3 separate regions of the Homo sapiens genome follow, and regions 1 and 2 are each linked to region 3. Evidence: promoter capture Hi-C in 16 types of primary human blood cells and fetal thymus (Javierre and others, 2016). All regions are on one chromosome and are shown on one strand. Each heading gives the region's core, a stretch centred on a gene start or on the middle of the fragment in contact. The rest is flanking DNA. Distances are from core to core; before and after follow the strand shown.

Region 1 (2,700 bases), core at 32-2,531, 150 kb after region 3:
GTTTTTTTTTTTTTTTTTGAGACTGCGTCTGGTTCTGTTGCCCAGGCTGGAGTGCAGTGGCACGATTTTGGCTCACTGCAACCTCCGCCCCTGCAGGTTCAAGCAATTCTCATGCCTCAGCCTCCCACGTAGCTGGGACTACAAGCATGTGCCACCACACCCAGCTACTTTTTGTATTTTCAGTAGAGATGGGGTTTCACCATGTTGGCCAGGATGGTCTTGAACTCCTGATGTTGTGATCCGCCCACCTTGGCATCCCAAAGTGTTGGGATTACAGGCGTGAGCCGCTGCGCCTGGCTGAAGTGTGTGGTTTAATTTCCACCTATTTTGGGATTTTCCTGCTATCTTTGTTATCACTTTCAAGTTTAATTTCATTGTGGCCTGAGAGCAGACACTGTATGATTCTATTCTTTTAAATTTATTACAGCGTATTTTATGGCCCAGAATGTGATCTGTTTTAGTCAGTGTTTCCTGTGAGCCTGAGAAGAACATGTAATCTGCTGTTGTTGGATAAAATATTCTATAGATGTCAATTATATCCAGTCAGTTGGTAGTGCTGTTGAGTTCTACTATATCCTCACTGATTTTATGCCTTCTGGATCTGTCCATTTCTGATACATGGGGTTAGTTAAAGTCTCCAACTATAATAGTGAGTTCATTGTTTCTTCTTGCTTCTGTCAACTTTTGCCTCATGTATTTTGACACTGTTTTTAGGCACATATGTGTTAAGGATTGTTAGGTCTTCTTGGACAGTTGATCTTTTTATCATTATGTATTGCTCCTCTTTATTCATAATAACTTTCCTTGCTCTGAAGTTTGCTCCATCTGAAATTAATATAGCTACTCAACTTTCTTTCAGTTAGTGTTAGAATGGTATATCTTTCTTCATCCCTTTATTTACTTTTCTTTTTTTTTTTTTTAAGAACCCATCTATGCTGGGACATCCCTTTATTTTTAATCTCTGTGTGTCTTTATATTTAAAGTGAGTCTCTTGGCTGGGTACAATGCCTCATGCCTGTAGTCCCAGCGCTTTGGGAGGCCCATGTGGGAGGATCACTTGAGGCCAGGAGTTCAAGACCAGCATAAGCAACACAGTGGGACCCTGTCTCTACAAAAAATTAAAAAAATTAGCTGGGCATGGTGGTGCACGCCTGTAGTCCCAGCTACTTTGGAGGCTGAGGTGGGAGGATCGCTTGTGCCTGGGAGGTTGAGGCTACAGTGAGCTATGATTGCACCATTGCACTCCAGCCTGTGTGACAGAGCAAGACCCTGTCGCAAAATAAATGAATAAATAAAAAGTCGGTCTCTTATAGACAATATATTGTTTGGCTGCTTTATTATTATTATTTTAATTTAACACTCTCTGTCTCTTAATTGGTGTATTTAGACCATTGATGTTTAAAGTGATTATTGATTAATATAGTTGGATTAATGTTTATTATATATGTTACTGTTTTGTATTTGTTGCCCTTGTTCTTTGTTTCTATTTTTGCCTCCCACACTTTTTCTGCCTTTTTTGGTTTATTTGAGCATTATATATAATTTCTTTTTCTCTTCTTTCTTAGCATATCGCTTATACTTGTTTCTCCCTCATTTTTTGAAGGATAATTTCACAGGGTTCAGAATTCCAGGTTGATGGAGTTTCTTTCTCTCAACAGTATTTCACTCCACTCTCTTTTTGATTGCATGGTTTCTGAGGAAAAGTCAAATGTAATTCTTATCTTGGCTTCTATATAGGAAAAGTATTTGTTTTTTCCCTTCGGCTTCTTTCACGATTTTTTCTTTATCTTTGGTTTTCAGAAGTGTGACTATGATATGCCTAGGTACAATTTTTTTTTTTTTTTTGGTCTTTATTCTGCTTGGTACTCTCTGAGCTTCCTAGATCTGTGGTTTGGAATCTGACATTAATTTAGGAAAATTCTCAGTCTTTATTCCTTCAAATATTGTTTCCATTCCTTTTTTTCTTCTCCTGGTATTTGCATTGTGTGCACCTTATATCTTTCGTAGTTGTACCACAGTTCTTGGATATTCTGTTGTGTTTTTTCAGTCTTTGTTCTCTGCTTTTCAGTTTGGGAAGTTTCTGTTGTCATATCCTCAAGCTCAGAGATTCTTTCTCAGCCATGTCCAGTCTGCTAATGAGCCCATCAAAGGCATTCTTTATTTTTGTTACAGTATTTTTATTATTTATTTATTTACTTATTTATTTATTTGAGATGGAGTCTCACTCTGTCGCCCAGGCTGGAGTGCAGTGGTGCAGTCTCGGCTCACTGCAACCTCCGCCTCCTGGGTTCAGTCAATTCTCTCGCCTCAGCCTCCCGAGTATCTGGGATTACAGGCACCCGCCATCATATCTGGCTAATTTTTGTAGAGATGGGATTTCACCATGTTGGCCAGGCCAGTCTTAAACTCCTGACCTCAGGTGATCCGCCTGCCTCGGCCTCCAAAAGTGCTGGGATTACAGGCGTGAGCCACTGCACCCAGCCTGTTACAGTGCTTTTAATCACTAGTATTTCTCTTTGATTCTTTCTTAGAATTTCCATCTCTCTGCCTGCATTATCCATCTGTCCTTGCATGTTGTCTCCTTTATCCATTGGAGTCCTTAGCATATTAATCATAGTTGTTCCCAGTATGATAATTCCAGCACGCCTGCCATTTCTGACTCTGGTTCTGATGTTTGCCCTGTCTCTTCAAATTGTGTTG
Region 2 (2,700 bases), core at 197-2,696, 210 kb after region 3:
TTTTCGTGCCATAGAACCCTTGTACTTCCCACCCCTGCTGTGGGGTGACCCCGTGTCAGAAACGGGGTGTTTTCATCTTGCAGAGCCCCTGCCTGGGTCTCTAAGCCTTGAAGGGCTCAGTGCATCCCCCCAGCACCAGGGGACAGTCCCATCAGAGGCTGCTTCTCTCCCCACAGAGCCCCCCTGCCTGGCAGAGCTGGAGCGCATCCAGATCCAGGAGGCCGCCAAGAAGAAGCCAGGTGAGGGGCCAGACCAGGCTCTCAGAGGAGGAGGTGGGGACGGCTTCCTGGGTTTGTCTGAGACCCAGGGCCTCCAGCCTTGGGCCTCATGGCAGACATGGAGCCCAGAGGAGGCCCTGGCCTAGGAAGACAGAAGAGGGTTGCCCCCTTCCTGTGTCTATCCTTGTGGTGGGGCAGGGACTCCCAATCTGCCCCGGGAAAAGTGTGTTTTAGGCACTAATTTTATGCCCATCCATGCTGGAGCTAGAGTTTGGGATACAGAAGGATCCTGGAACCCTCCACTGAGTTCAGTTTCCTTCAGCAAGGGTGTGACTAATGTTTTAGTGAGGCCACTCCCTGAGTGACACTCACTCACATGCTCCATAAACACCTGGGGGCCGGCCCCAGAGATACAACAGCAATAGACCCAGCCCAACTCTGAGCGGATGGCAAGAAGGATGCACTCCCTGGCCTCATAACCCTTTAGCTCGGGCCAGTCCGGAAACACACAACACACAAATGGACACACTAAAAAGACAGAACTAGCAGTGTGACCTGTACACAGGCGCCTGGGAGCTTCAGCTGGGGAGCCTGCAGGAAAGCAAGTGGGCCCCGGAGGCAGGTCGGACTCAGAGTGGCTGGGAGGAGAAGGCTGGGCCTTCCTAGCAGGGGACAGCCAGGCCGGCGGAACTGTGGGAGGATGGAGAGTGTCAAACCTGGTGAAGTCAGACTGGCTGTCCTAGAAGACTTGGGCCATGGAGTCAGGGAAACTGATGGGGCGGCTGGGAGCTAGCACAGGGGCCTGAGCAGTGGTTCAAGGAAGCGGGTTTCCTCATCTCCAGCGAGTAGAGCCGAAAGAATTGCTGGCTGGTGTCCAGCTCTCAGCATCTGGGCCTGTTGGGGGGTCAGCACCCGGTCTGGCTGGGCTCTGGGGGTGTATAGACTTCTGCTCATGCATGAGGACCTGAGGTCACCTCTCTGAGGGGCCCACAGCCTGGGCCCCTGCTCTGACCCTGCCTGGCACTGTCTCATTCAGGCATCTTCATCCCGAGCTGCGACGAGGATGGCTACTACCGGAAGATGCAGTGTGACCAGAGCAGCGGTGACTGCTGGTGTGTGGACCAGCTGGGCCTGGAGCTGACTGGCACGCGCACGCATGGGAGCCCCGACTGCGGTACGGGCTGGGCAGCTCAGGGCCTGCTGGGGGCCCAGGCCTGGGGGCCCTTGTCGTGGGATGCTGGGGGGTGCGTGCCAGAAGCTCCCTCACCCCCTGTTGGCTTGATCCCCTCACAGATGACATCGTGGGCTTCTCGGGGGACTTTGGAAGCGGTGTCGGCTGGGAGGATGAGGAGGAGAAGGAGACGGAGGAAGCAGGCGAGGAGGCCGAGGAGGAGGAGGGCGAGGCAGGCGAGGCTGACGACGGGGGCTACATCTGGTAGACGCCCTCAGGAGCCGGCTGCCGGGGGGGACTCAACAGCAGAGCTCTGAGCAGCAGCAGGCAACTTCGAGAACGGATCCAGAAATGCAGTCAGAAGGACCCTGCTCCACCTGGGGGGACTGGGAGTGTGAGTGTGCATGGCATGTGTGTGGCACAGATGGCTGGGACGGGTGACAGTGTGAGTGCATGTGTGCATGCATGTGTGTATGTGTGTGTGTGTGTGGCATGCGCTGACAAATGTGTCCTTGATCCACACTGCTCCTGGCAGAGTGAGTCACCCAAAGGCCCCTTCGGCCTCCTTGTAGCTGTTTTCTTTCCTTTTGTTGTTGGTTTTAAAATACATTCACACACAAATACAAATTGACAGGTCAAAATCCATGAAATGAGATCCCCCAGCCGTGTCCTCCAGCCCAGCCCTGACCCCTTGGTTTCTACCCTGGCTCCCCTTGGTTTCTACCCTGGCTCAACCGACCCCTGTCTGCCCTTCTCCCTCTTGCTTCTGAGGTCAAGCTCTGGCCTGCGAGCCTGTCCCCATTGCAAAGGGGAGGGAGGGGCAGGGAGCTGTCTACCAGCTGAGGTCCTCCCAAAACTGGGCCGATGTGGTGTGACATCCCCACCAGCCTCAGATGAGACGGGCCAGGACGCCCAGCCACAGCAAGCCCTGTCCCTTTGCCGGATCCCCAAACACTAGAGAAGCTCTCCTAACCCAAGGCGGAGAATGAAGGTGGTGGCGGCAGAGGAGGAGGGCAGCAGCTGAGAGGCCAGGGACAGGGTGCCTCGCCAAGCTGTCTGAGGTCTGTCCCAGGTGGCCCAGGTGGTGCAGGTAGAACAGGGTGAGGAGAGGGGGTCGGCTCAGCAGGAGGAGGCTGTGGCTGCAGAGCCTGGGGGAGCTTTTAGGTGTTGAGATGGGGCAGCTCTGAATCCTAGACCCTGGAATAGCCTGTCCCTTTTCTCTGGGTCTCGTGGTGGAGCCATGATCTGGGCTGCTCTCTTGGGGACACTGGGTGGTGGTTACACAGTTGACCTCTGCCTGGCTCCCCCTTG
Region 3 (2,700 bases), core at 155-2,654:
TCCCCCACCTCCACCTTAGGTGGCTGCCTCAGTTTTCCAACCACAGGAATCAGTCCCTCAGCTCCTGCCTCTAGTCTCCACCCCAAAAGTTCAGTCGTCTCTGTCTTGGAGGGCACTGTCGGCCCCCTCAGGTTGAAGTTCAACACTCCTCAATGAGCAGCTGTTCCGAGCTGTACAGCTTCTTCTTGATGACTCGGAAGCCAGTGCTCAGCGTCAGGGACTGGCTGAAGCCAGGGAGGAAGGGAGAGTTGGCGGAGCTAAACAGCCCCTGGATCTTGGGCCAGAGTCGTGAGTCCAGGCGCAGCACGAGGGTCAGCTGGAAGGTGGGCACCAGGCTGGGGTCGAGTGCCAGCTGGCCCACGCTGTGGCAGCTCTTGCCCTGCTCCACGCAGACGTCCAGCAGCGCCCCCCGCAGGCCGCACGGCTCGCTGTAGGCCAGGCGCAGTAGTTCTTTGCCCACCTGGCTTACCAACTGGCTAGGCATCAGCAGGCGCGCAGGGCGTCGAGAGCCCAGCCGCGCCTGGGCCAGGCTCTCCTGCAGCAGCTGCATCAGGTTGGCACACAAGTGTTCATCCTCAGGGTCACTGAGCAGCTCGAAGTCGGGCAACGACACCCCATCCAGGTAAGCCGTGTCTGGAAAGGAGAGCACACAGGAAGGGGTATTAGAGCGGCTTCAAAACGAAACGCACAGGCGGGGGAGGTGCTGTTTCCTTAAGAAACCAACGCTCCTTCCCACTCCGTGCCTCAGTTTCCGCCTCACTCACCTTATACTCCAATTCCCCCTGCCCCCAAGCAATCTGGGTCCCGATGGGATAGGAAGCCAAGGCGGCTCTGACCCCTTCCAGCACCGGGGCTTCCCCACCTTCCCGGCCCCTCGAGTCGCGTCGGCACCCGCCCACCGCTCACCTTCCTCCGGCCCGAAGCCACTGTTGCTGCTGTCCAGGGACTCGCAGTCCGAGCTCTCCAGGCTCGTGGAGCGGTCAAACCCCTCCTCCCGGGTCGCCGACCCCCAGGCTGAGCGCGGCGGCCGATCTGGGGTGGGAGTTCGGGGCAAGGACGAGGGCGAAGAGGAGGTGGACGACGACGAGAAGCGGTCCCAAAGGCTAGGCATGGTGAGGACAGACGCCAGGGCGTTTGCTGATGAACTCAGAGTGCCGGAGCGTAGAAGCCGCTGTAAGACAAGAGGGGGACCGACCAGGCGTCAGTCTGGGGACCAGACCAGACCAGACCGCGAGCTCTAGGACCCACACACAGAAGGGACACTCACCAGCTAGCGCGGTCAGCGAGAACTGCTAAGACAAGTGCGTCCTGCCGCTTGAATGGGTGTGCGAACCCGTGCCAACCACCGAGAGCCGCCCAGACCCGTCCCAGGTCCACGCTCGCACCTCCCCCTTGGCCTGCTGCGCCCTAGCACCAGCGCGGAGCAGCCTATAAGGACTAGCGCGGCGAGGCCACGCCTTCTCTGCGCCACGACCCAATCCAGACCCGGGAGTGTGGCCCGCCTTGGCCAATGGACTCCGGGCGCACGTAAGCAACGTTCTCTCCTGCCCGGTGACAGCGGCCGGGCCCCGCCTCCATTGAGCCCCAGAAAGCTCGCAGTCGAACCCCGACCCACCGCCACGCCCCCTTTCTGGAAAGGATCCGCGGCGGCTGCAGCTGCCAAGGTCCCCGAGGGCGCTCGCGGCAGGGGAGGATCAAGGAAAGACTTGTTTATTATAGGGTTGCATTGCTGGAGGAGGGGACAGCCCGTGACCAGGCTAGGAGGAGAGGCAGGGAAGCGTGAGGGGGCGGCGGGCAAGGAAAATGGTTGCCCCCAGCGTCTTGGATCCTAAAGCTTCGGGAACAACTGGGCACACACGGGGGGGATGCCCGTGGGACGGCGGCGCAGGAGCAGACGTTAGCCCGGCCTGCCCTCGCGCCCTTACCCCCTCTATCCCTGCTTTGCAAAGGCTCGGGATATGGGGGTGGGGTCCACAGACTGGGAAGCTCCGGGCACCATGCTGCCCCTTCCCCAAGGCCCCACCTGCCCATCCTGGCTGTTACTCTACAGCCCAGGACATAGGTTAATGGGGATCCCTGCCTCCTCCCAAACCCTATCTGCTTCCACTTCCAACTGCTCCCAAGGAGAGGGCTTGAGGAGAGTGGTTAGAGGAGTGTGGATGGGCCCGGGTTCATAGCGCCCAGTGCAGGGATGGAAGCGAGGATTCACAGCAGTCGGACTCACAGACCCATCCGCCCTCCCCGCGGACTGCAGGCAGCGCAGCCGGACCTCCCTGCCCGGGCGCCCCCCGGGTCCTAGCACCCAGCGCTCGCCTAGCGCTTTGTGTAAAAGATCCAGACGGTTGCATCAGGACCGAGGACCGAGATCTCTGGAAAAGCCAGGGAGTGCAATGGCCATCCCGTGTTTCATCATTCAGGCGGGGCCACAGGAAATCTGGCCTGGCAGCAGTGCTCAGAGGCTAACAGTGGTTGCTGAGGGTGGGTGGAGGTTGAGACGGACTCGACCTTTATTGCTCTAAAGGTTTATCAGTCTGGGACAGGAGGACCCTGATGGAAGAGGGAGCCAAACTTACATCAGATGCCCAGGGCCCCGGGGGCGGGCAAGGAACCTAACCAGATAGGCGGGCCTTGCCTCGGGTCAGGCTTGCTTTCGCGTGACAAATGACACTTGCAGGAGATGTCAGGCCACTGCCCTCCGCA

Evidence for each region. The method cuts DNA at HindIII sites, captures the fragments that hold promoters and counts their contacts. A CHiCAGO score of 5 or more calls a contact.
Region 1: a contact is called between a fragment that was not itself captured here and the fragment with the promoter of DDIT4 in region 3, in 3 of 17 cell types (non-activated CD4 T cells, total CD4 T cells and total CD8 T cells). The highest score is 5.9, in non-activated CD4 T cells.
Region 2: a fragment that was not itself captured here is called in contact with the fragment with the promoter of DDIT4 in region 3 in 5 of 17 cell types (total CD4 T cells, naive CD8 T cells, total CD8 T cells and 2 more); the score reaches 8.7 in total CD4 T cells.

Annotation. Positions count from the first base shown.
Region 1 is chr10:72,119,738-72,122,437 of GRCh38, reverse strand. The region is part of intron 9 of ASCC1 (activating signal cointegrator 1 complex subunit 1); the gene reads left to right. Among named protein-coding and RNA genes, the nearest start is that of SPOCK2, 33 kb to the right of the region's middle. The HindIII fragment of the contact is 3,620 bases long and covers 1-2,700 here.
Region 2 is chr10:72,061,717-72,064,416 of GRCh38, reverse strand. SPOCK2 (SPARC (osteonectin), cwcv and kazal like domains proteoglycan 2) reads left to right here. Exons shown (of 11, transcript NM_001244950.2): 9 at 177-239; 10 at 1,255-1,392; 11 at 1,512-2,700. The coding sequence ends at 1,657. Among named protein-coding and RNA genes, the nearest start is that of SPOCK2, 25 kb to the left of the region's middle. The HindIII fragment of the contact is 6,001 bases long and covers 1-2,700 here.
Region 3 is chr10:72,272,628-72,275,327 of GRCh38, reverse strand. It overlaps DDIT4 (DNA damage inducible transcript 4), which reads right to left and starts at 1,404. Exons shown (of 3, transcript NM_019058.4): 1 at 1,268-1,404; 2 at 907-1,171; 3 at 1-633. The coding sequence starts at 1,111. The coding sequence ends at 140. DDIT4-AS1 (DDIT4 antisense RNA 1) reads left to right here and starts at 1,617. Exons shown (of 2, transcript NR_186445.1): 1 at 1,617-2,478. RefSeq lists enhancers at 1,030-1,149, 1,860-2,383, 2,384-2,700. The HindIII fragment of the contact is 3,971 bases long and covers 1-1,836 here.